Linked DNA regions of Homo sapiens: region 2 is linked to region 1. The links are contacts of gene promoters, found by promoter capture Hi-C in blood cells and fetal thymus (Javierre and others, 2016). All regions are on one chromosome and are shown on one strand. Each heading gives the region's core, a stretch centred on a gene start or on the middle of the fragment in contact. The rest is flanking DNA. Distances are from core to core; before and after follow the strand shown. Region 1 holds the start of MALINC1 (mitosis associated long intergenic non-coding RNA 1). Region 2 overlaps TMCO6 (transmembrane and coiled-coil domains 6).

The links. The method cuts DNA at HindIII sites, captures the fragments that hold promoters and counts their contacts. A CHiCAGO score of 5 or more calls a contact.
Region 2: a contact is called between a fragment that was not itself captured here and the fragment with the promoter of MALINC1 in region 1, in 1 of 17 cell types (naive CD8 T cells). The highest score is 5.3, in naive CD8 T cells.

Annotation. Positions count from the first base shown.
Region 1 is chr5:140,106,129-140,111,879 of GRCh38, forward strand. MALINC1 (mitosis associated long intergenic non-coding RNA 1) reads right to left here and starts at 1,884. Exons shown (of 4, transcript NR_102741.1): 1 at 1,281-1,884; 2 at 168-362. It overlaps LOC124900193, which reads right to left and starts at 3,141. Exons shown (of 4, transcript XM_047417990.1): 1 at 1,656-3,141; 2 at 168-333. The coding sequence starts at 2,857. The coding sequence ends at 1,931. RefSeq lists enhancers at 984-1,083, 2,194-2,695 and silencers at 1,614-1,683, 1,714-1,773, 1,784-2,043. The HindIII fragment of the contact is 3,432 bases long and covers 1-3,057 here.
Region 2 is chr5:140,640,902-140,646,631 of GRCh38, forward strand. TMCO6 (transmembrane and coiled-coil domains 6) reads left to right here. Exons shown (of 12, transcript NM_018502.5): 3 at 764-879; 4 at 969-1,152; 5 at 1,414-1,518; 6 at 1,685-1,770; 7 at 2,024-2,140; 8 at 2,663-2,774; 9 at 2,879-3,065; 10 at 3,199-3,293; 11 at 3,672-3,839; 12 at 4,084-4,503. The coding sequence ends at 4,197. It overlaps NDUFA2 (NADH:ubiquinone oxidoreductase subunit A2), which reads right to left. Exons shown (of 3, transcript NM_002488.5): 3 at 4,384-4,777. The coding sequence ends at 4,686. Among named protein-coding and RNA genes, the nearest start is that of NDUFA2, 3.9 kb to the right of the region's middle. The HindIII fragment of the contact is 757 bases long and covers 3,484-4,240 here.

The DNA.
Region 1 (5,751 bases), core at 634-3,133:
CAGTTGGAAACATTTAGGACAGAATATCCTTTAGGATATTAAGATGCAGAAGACTGTACTTCGAAGGATATTTATATAGTAGTGCTGCCACCTAAAGATGAGGTGAATATAAAGAAGCAATTCAAAGGAAATGACCCATCACCCTTAAGCCAGTCTCATTTTCTCACCTCCAGCTAGGAATTAATAAGCGTGTTGCTGTTGTTGTTGTCATTAACAGGGAAGTTGAACTGTTTCGCAATCACTTATTTCTGAGCTTTAATCCTCTGTGCCAGATAATTTCAGACTCAAACCTTTTCTAGTCCTCTGCGATTCTTCTCAGCCATCAGGCACTGCCTACAATACGTAAGAGGCAGCAAAAGATACTTGGAAAAAAACAATTGAGAGATTTCTGGTTTAGTGAATAAAGCAGGCAATAATAGACCTTAGAGTTTTCCCTTTATCAGTGATAGACTCCTCACAATGCTGAACAACTGACTTACATTTTGATAACTAAATTTTCATCTGTAAAATGGGAGTAATTATACCTTAGTCCTACTTGCCTCGCAGGCTCAACTAGATATGCTTCTGGGAAAGATTCTCTAACAAGTGAGTTTAAAAGTCTACCACTGCCTAACAAAGAGGGATTTTGTGGTATATTTGCAAAGTAACTTCAAAACAAAATAGTTAAATAGGTTGAGGCAATGATTAAGTTTTCCTAAATCACAGTTTGACTTCTCGGAGGTCTATTTAAATAATGATAAAGATGATAAATGCAGTTTTTATTTTGCTGCAGTTATTAGCTGATCCACGTTCCATCTACGTATTCAGTGTTGCAGGATGGAGACGTGACAGCGTAGAAAGCGAGCAAAAGCGTTACCGTGCACCAAAAATCTTGTCAAACTTGATACGATTTCAAGAAGACTGTCTTAAAGGACATTTTATAATTTCACATTTAGCCCTTGCATAGCATTTTATGAAAATTAACTTTTACCCTTTCCCCCTCGGCCCAAGGAAGTCGCATTCCCTCAAAGGGGCCCGGCTTCAACATATTACACTGCGTGGGAGGCTGGGCAGCAACCCCACGCTTCCTGTCAAGGATTCCTGGGGCCAGAGCCTGAAAAGTGCTCTAGCCACTCTTCTCTATGCTAATTCTGTCCTTCCGACCCCTCTTGGCGGGTGTCTGAGGGCCAAGGTGAGACTTTCCCCGGAGATGAAAGGCCTATTGCCTCTTCAGAGACCCGGGCGGAGTTGGGGCGGGGGTGCCGCGTGATAGGGTGGTAGCAGAAGTCGCAACGACGCACAGGGCCCTAAGTTGGAGCTGGCGCAGGCCCTTCAGGGTTCTATCCCCGCCAGAGCCTGGCTTCGGCCTTCAGAAGCCAAACGAGTAATAGGTCCTTCTGGGGCGCTGTGGGCGGTGGGTGGAGGAAGTGTGGGCGGAGAGGCCACAGACATCCCCCTCCTCAGACGCGCCCCAAGGCCTGGCCCGCGGAATGTTGACGCGCCAGGAGCCGATAGGGCGCGCTCACGCGCGAGAAGGGGGCGGAAAGAGCGCGCTCGGCGGCCGCCGCGGCGGCAGCTAAAACGGAGGGACGCGAGAGCGAAGGGCGCGAGCCACGGAGTTGGGAGGAGGGGTGGGGAACGCGGAGCGCGCGCTGACGTCGCCTGGAGTCACGCACGGAGCGCCGGGTTACGCGCCGACGTCTGGCTGCCACGACTTGCCGTCTGCGGCGGCGGCGGCGGCGGCGAGCGGATCCCGCAGGGGAAGGAGGAGGAGGAGGGAGAGCCAAGGGGGCTGTGAGTGAGCGGGAGAAGCAGGGTGTGAGCCGGACTTGCCCATGGGAGGGAGAGCGAGCGAGAGCCGAGCCAGCCATCCGAGCCGCCTCCTCCTCCTCCCCTCGGCGTCCCGCCCCCGCCCGCCAGCCCGCCCTCCTTCCTCCTCAGCCCGCAGAGCCTAAGTGAGGCGCAGCTCGGCTAGCGCCGCTGTCCAGGACAGGTGTGCGCGCGCGCGCCCTCCTCCCCTCCCCCCTTCCTCGCGCCTGTCTCGCGCGCGCCCTCCCTCCCGCCAGCCTGCGCCCTCCCTCACCTGCGGCAGGACAGCGCCCGCCCGCCCGGGTAAGCCCCTCGCGACCTTCCCTGCTGCCACTGCCACAGCTCCAGGTGACGCTCGCCCCGTCCCCTTTACTTGCTCTCTCAGCCCAGGAATAATTATAGTACCATTGCAGACATCCCCGCACCCTCCCTCTTGGAGACCCAGGCGGTGCAGCAACGTTCTCTCCCACCCCCCGCAGCGAGAAACGAATGAACCCCCTCCTACTTTCAAAAGAGAACAAAATAACACGCCCCTTAAGAAAAGAGGCGATCCTACCTCCGCAGGCGCTGGAGACCACCAGTGATGCGTTTGCTTAGCAATCCCTGAGCCCCATTTCCCCTGGCCGCCTTCGCCCTGGGGCCTGGGACTGTGCGCTAGACGTGGCTGACACTCCCTGCACGGCAACCCTGGAAGGAGGGAGAGGAAGGAGAGTTCTATAACCCAGGCTTCACTGCCAACCCCTCCTCTGTTCGGTTCCCCCCACCCCACTACCACCAAATGCATACACCCGCCCAGGATGCGTTGTAAAAACAAAACAAAACCAGGAAAAAAAAAAAAAAAACCTTTGGTGCTGACATCGCAGATGAAGCCGGGCCCAAAGATGGGTGGCCCGAACAAGGCATTTTTACTGCCCCACAGCGCTGGGTCAGCTCCACAGCTCCTCTGCCTTTGTCCGAGGGCAAAAGGAACGGATGTGAAGCTGAGGGGTCTTCTCTGTGAGCGGCGGTGGGCCCCGGAGGCGGGCTGTGATGTTTGTAGGGGAAGGCACCCAACCAATATATCTGCCATAAACCTGAACTTGGGTTGGAGAGCCCCCAGAGACTGGCTGGGGTAACTGGTTCGTAGCTGTCTACCCCGGAATAAATGCCACCTTCTTTTCCGCGGTGTCTGCGGGACCCTCTGTTGGGGGTTCTAATTCGTTTTGGCCTGGGCTCCTTACATTTCTGTCCGGCCAGGCGCTTTTGGACAGCTTTTCGCAGCGGTGTCTAAGCTTGTGTTCGGTGTCCTTGGAAGGGAGGTCCCAGAGCTTTACAATAGGCTGGATTTGGTTTGACATCTTTTGGTGGACTGTCAAAGGGGAAAGGAAATTTTTGGATTACTTCAAGATCCCCCACCGCCCCCGCCCAACTGACGTTTGCGAATTGCGGCTTTGGAAATTGGAGTGTTGACTAGAGTGTGGAGAGAGAGTTGCTGATTTCATTGCTTTGAGTACTAGTAAAACCATTTAAGTATCAGCCGGAAGGGAGACAGCTATTGACATTTACATCGGTTCTGTTTGGACCTTTGGGGTACATAAAATGTCGGGTTCTCTGAATTTTTTATCGAATTTAGAATGTCTGCTACATTTATTTAACTTCTGCAAATGCTTAAAATGAAAACATTTTGGAAATGCGAGGATTTTTATCAAGTGGATTGTTCTCTTCATATATTAAATGTTTACTTCATATCTTTAATCCGAAACATTAAAATAGCATTGAAGAGGCATGATTTTCAAGATTAAGTGAGCTATGGAAAAGGAATACGCTTTTAAAGAACGATCTGGGAAATGCTGTTACTATTAGTCATTGTTGTTGTTAAATGTTAAGATTTATTTGAGAGTTTCTCAATTTTTTTGGTAGACAGTCATGAGAAGAAATGGCTAATTCCTCCACTTTGAACATTTACAGTACAACATCCCAGTTAGTTTTAATGATTTGGGTATTGAAGATAGTTGTCTGGTTTAAGACTGGTATTTAATCTAAGTATCACTTGAAAACACAAGCTCTAATGTTCTTTATTTTGGAAATTTGTGATTTTGTAAAATATTAATCAACATATTGTTTCTATTAGGAACTCTATAATCAGAAGGGTTTACTACCCAGAGGTAGACAACCTCTTTCCAAGTCTATTTTATAAATGTGTGTTGATTTTTACTTTATAAAACCAAAACTGAATTAGATTATTTCAGAATCACCTGTAGTCAGGCTGAAGAAAATTAAAGCTTTTTTCTTTTTTGTTCTGCCTAATGTGTATTTCTTTGCGCACAATTTTTTGTTGGTAAGAGTTTGTTAAATACATAGAGACAGTGGGATTAAAAATAAAGCAGTCTCTATTCTCTTTAAAATGTGTCTGTTGTATTAATAATAAAAGGGCTCAAGAAATCTAGAGACATTATGTCTTTGTAAGCATATTGTGAGGAGAAAGGAAATGTTTACTTTTTGATGTTTTTCATTAACATGGATTTTTGCTGCATATTAATTTGCTGTATATTTCGTTTTCCCTTTGTCTTTCCTACATTCTAATGAAATTATACATTTAGTTTTACAACTATTTGTTTTACATTAACAAATTCAAACAGCTGGATACTAGAACAGACTTCATTCACCAAGTTAGTATATTGTTTAGATTATTAACAAATGGTTAGAAGTCTTAAAATCCACTTATTTTCTAATGACTTTTCAGTGTTACAATGCAAATATAACTGTGAAGTTTTATTTAAAGTTTAAACTTTTTGTTTTAAGACTTCTGGAAGTTTATATTCATTTCTCCCAGATTGCCTTTTAAGGCTACTGTACACTATAGCCCAAAGAAAGCTGCCTTTCACCTCCTTAGTCTGAGAAAAAGCCCACACTTAAAGGCTTATTCTGAAATTAACTCTCGTTTCAGTAGTGAAAATATGCTAAAAATCCTATTTATCATTGAATTATTTTGGAAAGGCATTGTTAATCTTGTTTGCTTTTTAGATACACATATAAAGTAGAGAAGCTGGCAAATAAGGGCAAAAGTTTTATACATATATAATGAATAGCATAAAACAAGTACATATTTATGTGGAGAGATCTAGGTCCCAGTAATTTGCTGATTTGACCTTAAAATTCCCAGTTTAAGTGTACAAATGAGATTCAACTTGTGTTCTGTCTGGAAACTTCATCAGTTGCCTCTGCGCTGGGTAACTAAGAAGTCAGTTCTTGGTGGCAGTCACTTTTTCAGAAAAACAGGGCACTTCCAAACTCAAATCATTCGGAATCCCTGTATATAGACGTCTAGGACGGAGGGCAAGAAAATTTAGACTGCAAGTCGGGATAGGAAGGCGGGAAGTTGGGATACGAAGGCGGGAAGTTGGGATAGGAAGGCGGGGCAGTTTCGAGTCTTAGTCTTCTGTCCTGGGGGCAGCAATCAGCACGGAAGAAAGGCAGGGACTGGCAGGGGGGGTGGGTGGGGCCCTCATCGTATTCTCATTGGCCTTGTTGCTGCCTTGAGTTTTCATTAGGGAGCAGGGGCTTGGTTTGACGCAAGGTAAACTCTTGAGGAAGAGCAGCAGCCCTTCTAGATCGGATTGTACCAGATCTTAGCCTCAGTTTACAAGTGAAACATAATGTCCCACTCCATTCTCTGTGGAGAGCCTGCTACTGAGCCTTTTTGTCCCTGGAGGCGCTGGGGTCTATCCAGAGTCCTGATTGCTACTGTTCGAGCCTGGAGGAGTTACTGCTTCTTCACACGTGTATTTCTGTGCAGTTCAAAGTGCTTCAAAAGTTCCTGTGTCCCCTTCTCAATAGACTTTGGGACAGGGGAAGGAGTGCAGAAAAAATCAACACGGAAAGAGTACTACAGGGTACTAGAGGTTGCCTCCCAAATAAGGGGAAGTTCTTTATGGGGCCCAAAGTCTGGGTTTTTATCTCTTGGTGTGGAGCCTTCCCTTCAGA
Region 2 (5,730 bases), core at 2,612-5,111, 540 kb after region 1:
CCCCTGTATTTGTATTATGTTTACGTACATAGTTTACCGTACATACCATGTTGACATATATATTATCAACTTATTCCTAGGTCATACTATTCCATTGTATGCTTACTTTATGCCAGGACACTGTGCTGGTCACTGAGGTACACAAAGATGAAAGGATAGAGTCCTTTTCTTTGAGGTGCTCACAGCCCGGTGAAGAAGACAGATGTCACAAGGGAAGGAAACATGAGGAACAAGAGAAACTCCTAAGTCTCTCAAAAAGAGCTAACTTCCCAGAGGAAATGAGGAGCAGAAACCTGAAGAGAGTGGGAAGCTGGAGAGGGTATCCAGGCAGAAGAAATAGCATGTGCAAAAGCTCGGAAATGTAAAAAAAAGAAAAAGAAAAAGCTCATGTTAGGCTGGTTGTTGTTAGAGTGTAGGTTGCATGGGGAGAATGGCTAGAGGAGTAGGTTTTGCCAGGCTGAGAGGTTTAAATATCCTTGAAAGAACCCTGTATGAAGGCAGGATAGATATTGTTATTCTCATTTTCAGGTGAGGAAACTTAGGTTCAGGTCCCATATGGAGTAAGTGGCAGGTATGGTATTAGAACTCAGTTCTGATTCTCTGTCCACTCCACTGCAAGGTAGATGCTTATTAGTTGCATTAGTGTGAATGACAAGTTCTGAAGGTGTGATATTGGAAGGCTCACAGGTGAAGTGGGCAGAGAGAGACTTAGGACTTGCTTTCTGTGAACCGTGTGTTCTCCTTTCCCTGCCCTGAACTCCAGGTGCAGCAGTTCCTGCGGCAAGCCCAGCGGGGGACAGAGGAAAAGGAGAGAGAGGGGGCTCTGGTCAGCCTTCGTCGAGGCTTGCAGCACCCTGAAACACAGCAAACCTTCATCCGGTCAGTGTGGATGGTGTGGTGGAGGGAGGAGTTGGGGCTCTGAGGGATGGACCACAAGCTAAGCAGGGCTCTGGTACTCACTCACATAGGCTGGAGGGCAGCATGCGGACCCTGGTCGGGCTCCTGACCAGCAACCAGGCCCTGCTGCAGCTTGAGGCGGCTCGGTGCCTGCATGAGCTCTCTCACTCCGAGCAGTCCACTGTTGCTGAGGCCTGCCTGCCAGCCACTTCTTACCTCCTCACCTACCTCTCCAGTCACAGCTCAGACTTCATAGTAAGCCCTGTCCCTTCCTATCTTGTTCTTGGTTTAGATTTTAAAATTGTGCTTTTGGGACCAGTTTGAGCTGGCAGGTAGGAGGAAGAAAACATGTTTGCCCTTATGCCTACAGCCATGGCTACACCCATCATCTCCCCACCCTCTTGTGAGCCGCAAGGATAGCTGCTCCAGCGTCCCCATCACCTCCCCTCCCCATCTCCCCACACGCAGCCTGGCATGAAACAGGCCAAGCCCAGTGCTTTTGTTGCCTGTTCTCAGGAGCTGTGTCTGTATACACTGGGTAACCTGATCGTGGAGAGTGAGGCTGTGAGAAGGCAGCTCCTGCCACAGGGCATTGTTCCAGCCTTGGCTGCCTGCATCCAGGTGACTCCTTTCTTCCTCCCTGGGCAACCCTTCCTTTGCTCCTCCCCACATGCTCCATCTACTTTGGTTAGGTAGCTCCAGCCTCTGCCCTGTGCCAAGGGGCTGAAAGTCTCTGAAGACCTGATGACCCAGCTTCCAGTCAGATCCTTACCCTGTCTACTTCCAGTCCCCCCATGTGGCTGTGCTGGAAGCTCTCGGATATGCCTTGTCCCAGCTTCTACAGGCTGAGGAAGCTCCAGAGAAGATCATTCCGTGAGTAAAATTGTCTTTAGATGTGCAGCCAGAGGTGACCCACTCAGTAGTATAGCTCCCGGATGCCTGAATGATTTCCAAAGCTGTTGCACATTTTAAATTCATGTGTCTGGCTAGGAAGGGCTTTGGGTTTGGACACTTTCCCATCTGGGCAGGGCTTTGGGTTTGGACACTCTCCCACCTGCTATCAGGGTTTGGTAAGAACCACTGGCATCTTCGTGGTTCCTACTTACAGCCCTGCTTCTGCCAGCAGCTCCATCTTGGCCTCCACTCTCCCTCAGCACATGCTACAAATGTTGCAACCTGGCCCAAAGCTCAACCCTGGGGTCGCTGTGGAGTTTGCCTGGTGCCTTCATTACATCATCTGCAGGTAACAGGGCAATTGGGAAAGTACCACAGATCTTCCCTGGGGCTCCCTTCCATGACATTCAACTCTTTGAACTTGTGTCTGGAATTGCTATAGTGAGTTTTCCTCCCTCCACTGTCTTCTCTTTTTGGAGCCCAGGAGACCCACAGACCTTAGCTGTTTCTCTTTTTTTTTGAGACAGTCTCACTCTGTCACCCAGGCTGGATGGAGTACAGTGGTGCGATCTCAGCTCACTGCAACCTCTGCCTCCCGGGTTCAAGCGATTCTCCTGCCTCAGCCTCCTGAGTAGCTGAGACTACAGATGCGTGCCACTATGCCCGGCTAATTTTTGTATTTCTAATAGAGACGGAGTTTCGCCATGTTGGCCAGGCTGGTCTCAAACTCCTGACCTCAGGTGATCCACCCACCTCAGCCTCCCAAAGTGCTGGGATTACAGGCATAAGCCACCACGCCTAGGCAACTGCTTCTCTTCTTAAAGGTGGAATTGACTATATACCTAGGGACTGCTTGCTTCCTGTTGCCCAGCCAGGTCAGCAATCCTCTGCTCATTGGCCATGGGGCTCTGTCTACTCTGGGGTTGCTGCTGTTGGACTTGGCTGGGGCTGTCCAGAAAACCGAGGATGCAGGACTGGAGCTGGTAGGTGAAGATGTCAGGTGAAATTCTGGGAGATGTTTCTTGATACTCTGGAATGCAGGTAACCTCTTCCTTCTTACACCTGACCCCCCAATTTGTCTTTGCAGCTGGCATGCCCCGTGCTTCGATGTCTAAGCAACCTGCTAACTGAGGCAGCAGTGGAGACTGTGGGAGGGCAAATGCAGCTCAGAGATGAGCGTGTTGTGGCAGCCTTATTTATCCTTCTGCAGTTCTTTTTCCAGAAACAGCCCAGTCTGCTCCCTGAGGGCCTTTGGCTCCTCAACAACCTCACTGGTACGCACCATAATCTGCCCAGGCCTGGACATTTGGATAATGGGGATATTTCCTCATGGCCTAGGCTGAGGTGGGTAGTATTGACAGGGGTGGTGGGGGAAAGCAGTTTTTCACCCTGGTACTTCTCTTCCAGCAAACAGTCCTAGTTTCTGTACCTCCTTGCTCTCCCTGGATCTGATTGAGCCTCTCTTACAGCTGTTGCCAGTATCTAACGTGGTGAGCGTAATGGTATGTATTGGGGTTACTTGAATCCAAGATCTGGTAGTCGGATTGTATGGGACAGCAGTCCTGAGCCCTCAGATGTACCCTTAGTTGAGAGCCAGCAGGTGGTGGTGTGTGGCCTCAGGGCCCAACCAATCTAGGTGTGTGTCCCTTAAACTGGATTATTTATCCTTGGACAAATCAACTAACCACCTTAAGCTTCAGTCTCCTCACTTATAACTGAGGATAATCTTGCATCATAGGGTAGTTGTAGGAGTATGAGAACATGTATGTAGAAGAGCTTGGCATGGTGCCTGGGCATGTGGTCACCATGTCATATATTTTAGCTATTGTTATGATCTTTGTGTTTCATTCTTTGTAGACTATATATGTGTCTATCTGCAGGTGCTCACAGTTCTGTGCAATGTTGCAGAAAAGGGTCCTGCTTACTGCCAGCGGCTGTGGCCAGGGCCCCTGCTTCCCGCCTTGCTGCACACACTAGCCTTTTCTGACACTGAAGTAGTAGGCCAGAGTTTGGAGCTGCTGCATCTGCTGTTCCTGTATCAGCCAGAGGTATAGGTTTCTGGCCCACATCCTCAGTCACCCCTGTTCTGAAGCCACACAGTGGCTCCCTTCCCATCCAGTCCTAACTATAGTTGTTTCTCTGGGCCTGGCTAACCTATATAGGTTCCATGTCAGAAACTTCATCCTCTTGTTGGGGAATGCACCCTCTGGAGTAGGCTGACCCATGAGGCTGTGGGAATTGAGTCTTAGGACACAGAGACCAGGTGTGTTGAATTTTCTTCCCTGCCCCTAGGCTGTTCAGGTCTTCCTGCAGCAGTCAGGGCTGCAAGCCCTGGAAAGGCATCAGGAAGAGGCCCAGCTCCAGGATCGTGTGTATGCTCTCCAGCAGACAGCTCTTCAAGGGTGATCTTGTTTCTCAATGTCACTCATTCCCCTCTCTCTTAACATCAAGCTTGTTTGTCCAGTAGAGCCTTTGGAGATTTAGGACCATAATGAGGTCTCATGTTCTCTGCTCCCACACCTAAGCCAAGACCTTTGGGTCCCAGCTCCTCCCCTTCCACTCAGCACTATCCAGGCAGGAGGACCAAAAGGGACTCAGTGTGGTCTACTTACTCTGGGGCCCTAGAATCCCTGCCCCCCCGCCACCCTTCATGTTTGCTTCAGCAGCTGGTAGCTTTTGATGAGACAGAATAAAGTTTTATTTTTATATTAAGCTACTTTGCCTCAGTGGTTGCACAGTAAGGGGTAGAGGGTAGATGAGGACAAGAACACCCTGAGAAAGTATTTTACAGCACAAGCTTTATGAGGAATAGGAGAACACATTTTTTTCACATTATACTAAGTCCAGCAGAGCCCAGGCTCTGGGGCTGTTGCTCTTAATCCTCAGTGGAGGCTTCAGGCTTTACCACTTAGAACGTTCTCCAGGGCTCTGGTTACCTGATCAGCACTGAAGTTGTTCAAAGGGACATTCGTCTCTTGGCCAAATGCTGAAGAGAGAGAGGGAGGTGTCTTTAACTATTCTGCACCCTGGAGGCTACCAAAGTAAAATAAAAGATCTTTGTCTTTATCTTAGTCTTGTTAAGACAGGAAGAGTATTAAAGAGATATGATCAAAATACATTTGGTATGCCTAGAATTAATACAATAGGTCTCAAACACATCTAGGAAGCCCAAGTCCAAATAGAATTTTGGCTGATTCTGGATGGCCGCAATGGGTTGTTTCAGGGAAGCTTTCGGGGGCACTGTAGGCATTTATTATTAACTACGGTGAGCAATGTATTGCATGGGTCCAGCCTCAGCTGGGAGCCCATTCTCTCTCTTTTTTTTTTTTTTTTTTTGAGACGGAGTCTCGCTCTGTCACCCAGGCTGGAGTGTGGTGGCACGATCTCCACTCACTGCAACCTCCACCTCCTGGGTTCAAGCAATTCTCCTGCCTCAGCCTCCTGAGTAGCTGGGATTACAGGTGCCCGCCACCACACCCGGCTAATTTTTGTATGTTTAGTAGAGACGGGGTTTTACCATGTTGGCCAGGCTGGTCTTGAACTCCTGACCTCAGGTGATCCACCTGCTTCAGCCTCCCAAAGTGCTGGGATTACAGGCGTGAACCACCGCACCCAGCTGGGTACCCATTCTCTAGGCTCCCATAGGCTATCTAACATAATACCCAGCACAATACACTAAAGTTACTCGTGTCTATCTCCTCCTGTAGTCTACTGGCTTTTGGAAGGAGAAGCTTTTTTCCTTCTCCAATTATTAGTGCATGTCTAATGTCTACTGTGTCTCACAGATATCTACTCTGAGAACCAATCTGCTTAAGGTGGTCACTCTCCTCCACCTCCTCCCGTCATTCCCAGGGCACCATATAGTTAAAAGCTGTGATTAAAATCCTGTTATTCAGTATGTATAAACATTTATTGCATACCTACAATGTGTTAGGCAAC